2 separate regions of the Homo sapiens genome follow, and region 2 is linked to region 1. The links are contacts of gene promoters, found by promoter capture Hi-C in human tissues and cell types (Jung and others, 2019). All regions are on one chromosome and are shown on one strand. The core of a region is centred on a gene start or on the middle of the fragment in contact, and the rest is flanking DNA. Distances in the headings are between cores, read along the strand shown.

Region 1 (2,700 bases), core at 54-2,553:
GCAGAGGCAGCCATCTTTCTTCCTCCTCCAGAGCTAACCCTTTCCCTCGTGCCCTTGATGCCCCCTCCACCTCTTCCTATTACCACTACTTGGCACCAGCCACATATTAGGGCTCCCTTGCAACCACTTTCAAACAAGGCCAGGCTTTATTCCATTTCAAAAAGCACACAAGAAAACCAAAATGCTTTTGCCTGACCTTGCTGTCTCTTCTAGTCTATTTATTGCTTTCCTTTTGCAGCAAGACATCTCAATTTCCTCTTTCCTCATAGCCCCTTAGTTTTGCAGTCTAGCTTCCTTTCTCTGTCACTCTATTGAAATTGTGTCCTCAAATGTCACAGTGGTTCCCTTGTAACTTAATCTGAAGAGGGTGGTGTTTTAGCCTCATTCTTCTTATTTTCTCAGCAGCATCGATTTTCTTTCTGCCTTTTTCTTTCATCTTCCACTCTGACATAGTTCTCTGGTTTATATTTTTCTGTTTATCTCCTGGGTTTTCTAGACCAGTCCAGTGCATAGCATCATGGCTGAGTCCAAGCTCTTACATTAGCCTGCCTGTAGCTGAATTTTAACTGCCACAAATTAACTGCATGACCTTTGTCAAGGTAATCTCCCTGTGCCTCAGTTTCTCCAGCCTTAAAATGGAGACTATAGTAGGAGTATTAACCTTTGGTTTGATGTAACAATTGAATGAGATAGTCTATGTAATATTTATCACAACATTTGGCACACAGAAGTTTTAATTGAATGTTATCTATTAGCATAACAATAAGTGCCTCTGTCTTTGAAAATATAACTGTTCTTTTTTCCTTTCAGGACATATTTTCTCCCTTTATGACCCAATGCAGAGCGAGACGATAACTAATTATTGTTAAATAGATTTATGCACGTGTTTGGAGAGTCAGGGAAGGAGGGCTGATGAGAGAGAGAGGCTCCTAAATTCTGCAGGTGCTGTAATTCCCCGGTTTTAATTTTGCTTTGCTTTTTACCAATAAATCATTTTGAGAGCTTAAATCGCTCCTTTCGGGACATACGGTGTTTCTTGAGCAGGAAGGGACGTCAACGGTTAAAGCTCTTGTTGTTGGTGCAACAATCAGCCACGATGAGGCTGCTTGGCATGGAACACAGTGTCCCATCCTTAGATTAAATGCGCTCTAACAGGATTATGTAAGGAAGGAGGCAGCCACGGCGGCGGCTTTGTGCAGGGGTCGCCTGGAACCCGTCCATTGAGTCATGCCGCCATCTCGCGGCCGCATGGGGAACGGGCCTTGGCAGGGAGGTTTTGTTTGGTGCAGAGGAAAGGTCCCCAGAATTGCCATCTGCAGAATTTCTGCAGAAAGTGTCGACCAGGCTGGCATGAGGGAAGAAGGAGGGGAAATCACAGCAAGGAGAAGGAAAAACACCTCAGCATGGCGTGGGGAAGCAAAGGTAGCAAGTCATGCTTGTGCCACCCTACAATATTCTTGTCGGTTTCATTCCAGAACAATTCCCTCCCCTGCCCAAATACTCTATAAACTTTGACTTTCCCCTCTTATTTGATTCTCACTTTCCAACACTCTGTGCCGACCCGTTATCCTGGACAGACCCTGCGTCACCTCCTAATTTCCCTTCTTGTATGTTAGGAATTCAGGGCTGGGAAAATTTAGCCGAGTCATCACATTTGGCTACTACCCGGGAAAGCAGCCCTCCCGAGTCAGGAACGGGCTCCGGTTCATCACGTGGCAGCCGCCTGCAGGAGCCGCAGGTAAGGGACACTGTTGGCCGGGGCAGCCAGATGCAGCGGGAGGCGTCCTGGCTGCACTTGGGTTCCCAAAACCTTTCTGGAATGTCACTCTGGTCACCAGTATGGGAGCTCGACCTCTAGGGGGTAGGATTTGGTAATGTTCTCTTTGTAAAACTGAAGTGGGCAATGTTGACCAGGAAGCTGATTTTGTTTGCTTTTCACAAACTATGTTAATCGATCAATAGTTGGGTTATAGATCATTCTATTGTCAGCAATATAATAGAATGGCAGGGACTCAGGGAAGATATTGACACTTTAAACTGAAATGTCTATGCGGTCTGTCTTCCCTCGTTCAGCTCACAGGACATTGCCTGGGAGCTGAACCTAGGCTTATAGCACAGTGACTGAAAGGATATCTTTCAGAGTCCTAAAATCTGCTCTGCCAGTATTTGACTTTGAGTTAATTGTTCAACATTACTTTAAGCCCAGTTTCTTCTTTTCTAAAATGAAGACGATTTTTTTAATATTAATTTTTTTTTTCATTTTTTTGAGACAGGGTCTTGTTGTGTTGCCCAAGCTGGGGTGCGGTGGCCCGATCTCGGCTCACTGCAACCTCTGTCTCCTGGGTTCAAGTGATTCTTCTGCCTCAGCCTCCTGAGTAGCTGGGACTACAGGTGTGCACCACCATGTCTGGCTAATTTTTGTATTTTTAGTAGAGGCGGGGTTTCACCATGTTGCTCAGGCTGGTCTTGATCTCCTGACCTCAAGCAATCTGCCTGCCTCAGCCTCCCAAAATGCTGGGATTTATAGGCATGAGCCACCACACGCAGCCTACTATTGTCATTTATAAGTTCAGTGTTGGAAGGATTTTTAAGCAATCTAACAGTTTCTTCTGCTCATTTTACAGATGAGATAAAATCAAAGTGTTTTATAATTTTGGCCTTCATAATATACCTTTTGGCTTCAATAAATAAAAGGATTAT
Region 2 (2,700 bases), core at 113-2,612, 850 kb before region 1:
TTCTTACCTTAGATTATTCATCATATCAACTCCAACTTTTCATAGGTTTATTTTTTGTTTCTAGCTTTCTAATTTCTTTTCTAATTGTGTTGGTGAATACCAGCAGTAACTAATGTTACCTAGTAATTATGTAATCATGTTTAGTTTCTGACTTCAGAGGAATTATCTCTAGTATTTCCCTCATTAAACATACCGTTGACTTTGGGCTAAGATAGGTATATTTTATTACGTTGAAAATTGATATTTTTTGCTGTTTTGAGCAATAATAATTGTTGAATGTTATCAACATTTTCAGTGTCTGTTTTGCTCCTTCAGTCAATTATAATGGTACATTATTTCATTTTTCTAATACTGAGGACCTTGCATTCCTAGAAAATAAATCTATTTCCTCAGATATATGAATCTTTTAATGAGGTACTGAATTCTGCTTATTTGTGATTTACTTGGGATAGTTAATCTTCATATGTGGTATTTTTCTATAACTTTCTTTTCAGTACAGTCTTTATCAGGCTTTGACAGCAATAGTTTATTCACTTCATTAAAAATATGGATTTTTTTATTTTTGTTCTTGAAGAATTGAAATGTTCTTTAAAGATTTGATTGAATTCCTCTATATGAAAAACTGAATCTAGTGTGTTTACCTATTTCTTCTGTTCAAATTAACAAAATTATAAGTTTTATCTCTTCTGGGGTCAATTTTGATCAATTATTTTTCCTAGAAAATAACTGACTTAAATGAAATTTTCAAAATTATTTACATGAAGTTGGGTAAAACATAGGTAGATTTAAATTTTTCTATAATTATGTAGTTATTTCCCTTTTTCATTTTCTTATTTTATATATTTTGCTTACCTGTCTCTTCTCCTGAAATAGATATTTTTCTCTTTGTTTAGATTACCTGTTACCTTATTTATTCTATTATTTTGTAAAGTGCCAGCTTTTGGAAGTAGCTTAAGTTTGTGATTTTCAGTTTTCCAATTGATTAATTTCCAATTTTACTTACAATAATTTCTTCTTTATGCTTTTCCTCAGTGTAGTTTATTGCTGTTTTACTAACTTTTTGAATTGGATATCTAACTTATTTTATTCATGCATACTTATTGATATAAATATTTAAAACTGTGAATTTTCTTTTCCTCACTTCTTTGCCTATATTTTACATGTCAAGTTGTTTGAATCACTGTGTATTAATTATTGTTAAGAAATTATGATATTTTGATTATATGACATTATTGCTGGAGAAGTTGAATAAGAGAACTTTTAAAAAATCCCAGTTAGAAGGCACATTTTATTATTTGATTTTGTTGTTAAGCTTTATTCTTATTACATTGTGAAAAATGACTGTGTCTGCATTACCTCCTGGAACATATTGAGATTTTTCTCTATTGACCTATTCTATAGTTAAGTTTTTTAAATATCCCCTAGAAACATGGAAGAAATGTGCGTTCTCTATTTTCAAAGTATAGTTTGAGATACATCCATCTTATCTACCTGTGAATCATACTATTTTGTTTCCCACAATGTTCCACTTCCTCTATCAAAGATTGAAAGAGGTGAATTAAAGTCCCTTAGTGCTTGTGTTTCTTCTTTCCTTTTTATTTATCTCTTGTAATTTGTACTTTATAACGTGAGTGCCATTGGTATTTGATGTGTAGATAAGCATAATTATTAAAGACTCATGAGGTGCACACTATAGGATAAAACTGCCTTTCGTTATATTAAATCCTTATTTTTGCCTAAATTCTACTATTTTTAATGTTAAGACTCTTGCTTGTTTACTTTTTTTTCTTGTTTCTTTTCTTGTTTGTTTTATTTTGTTTCGTCAGTTTTTATCTTATTTTGTTTGGTTGGTTGGCTTTGTTTTTTGTTTTGTTGCATTTTTTAGCACAACTTTACTCAAACCTCTAATTTTCAATTTTACAGAATTACTTTGTCTTATGTTTTCTATATACCATACAGTTTGGTTTGTTTTTCTGATCCACTTCGAAATTCCTTCTTCTGAGAAATGAGTTAAGTTCCCTTCATCAATTAATATAAGAAATACGTTCATCTTATATCTACCATTTAGTTTTATGGGGTTTTTTTGGTTTTGTTTTTTGTTGTGTTTTGTTTTGTTTGAGAAGGAGTCTTGCTCTGTCACCCAGGCTGGAGTGCAGTGACACAACATTGGCTCACTGCCACCTCTGCCTCCCTGGTTCAAGCAATTCTCCTGCCTCAGCCTCCTGAGTAGTTGGGATTACAGGAGTGCACCACCACACCCAGCTAATTTTTTATATTTTTGGTAGAGACAGGGTTTCACCATGTTGGCCAGGCTGGTCTCGAACTCCTGACCTCAAGTGATCCGCCTGCCTTGCCCTCCCAAAGTGCTGGGATTATAGGTGTGAGCCACTACACCCAGCCTAGTTTTGTGTTTTTTTTTCTCTCTTTTTTCTGAGATTTTCTTTTATTGTGTAGTATTTTTTTTGCTTGAATTTTTGGGTATATTTATTCTGATATAGAAAAATGTTATGTATAATTGTACATAATCCCCTTTGTTCTTTGTTTCTTTAAACCATACATATTAATTTATTATTCTGAACAATGATAAAATTAGCACATTTCCTCTTCTCTGACCACCTATGTTTTAGGTAACAATATTATCTTTCTTAATGTTTATCTTTGTACACTTAAGTATGCCAATTCTCCTAATACCTTCGATTT

The links. Contacts are between HindIII fragments. The study calls those that stand out against the background at their distance.
Region 2: a fragment that was not itself captured here is called in contact with the fragment with the promoter of MRO in region 1 in 1 of the 25 tissues and cell types used here (lymphoblastoid cells).

The regions. Positions count from the first base shown.
Region 1 is chr18:50,818,619-50,821,318 of GRCh38, reverse strand. It overlaps MRO (maestro), which reads left to right and starts at 1,303. Exons shown (of 8, transcript NM_031939.6): 1 at 1,303-1,422; 2 at 1,617-1,738. RefSeq lists enhancers at 1,099-1,148, 985-1,618. The HindIII fragment of the contact is 21,582 bases long and covers 1-2,700 here.
Region 2 is chr18:51,673,637-51,676,336 of GRCh38, reverse strand. No RefSeq gene overlaps it. Among named protein-coding and RNA genes, the nearest start is that of LINC01630, 280 kb to the right of the region's middle. The HindIII fragment of the contact is 4,774 bases long and covers 1-2,700 here.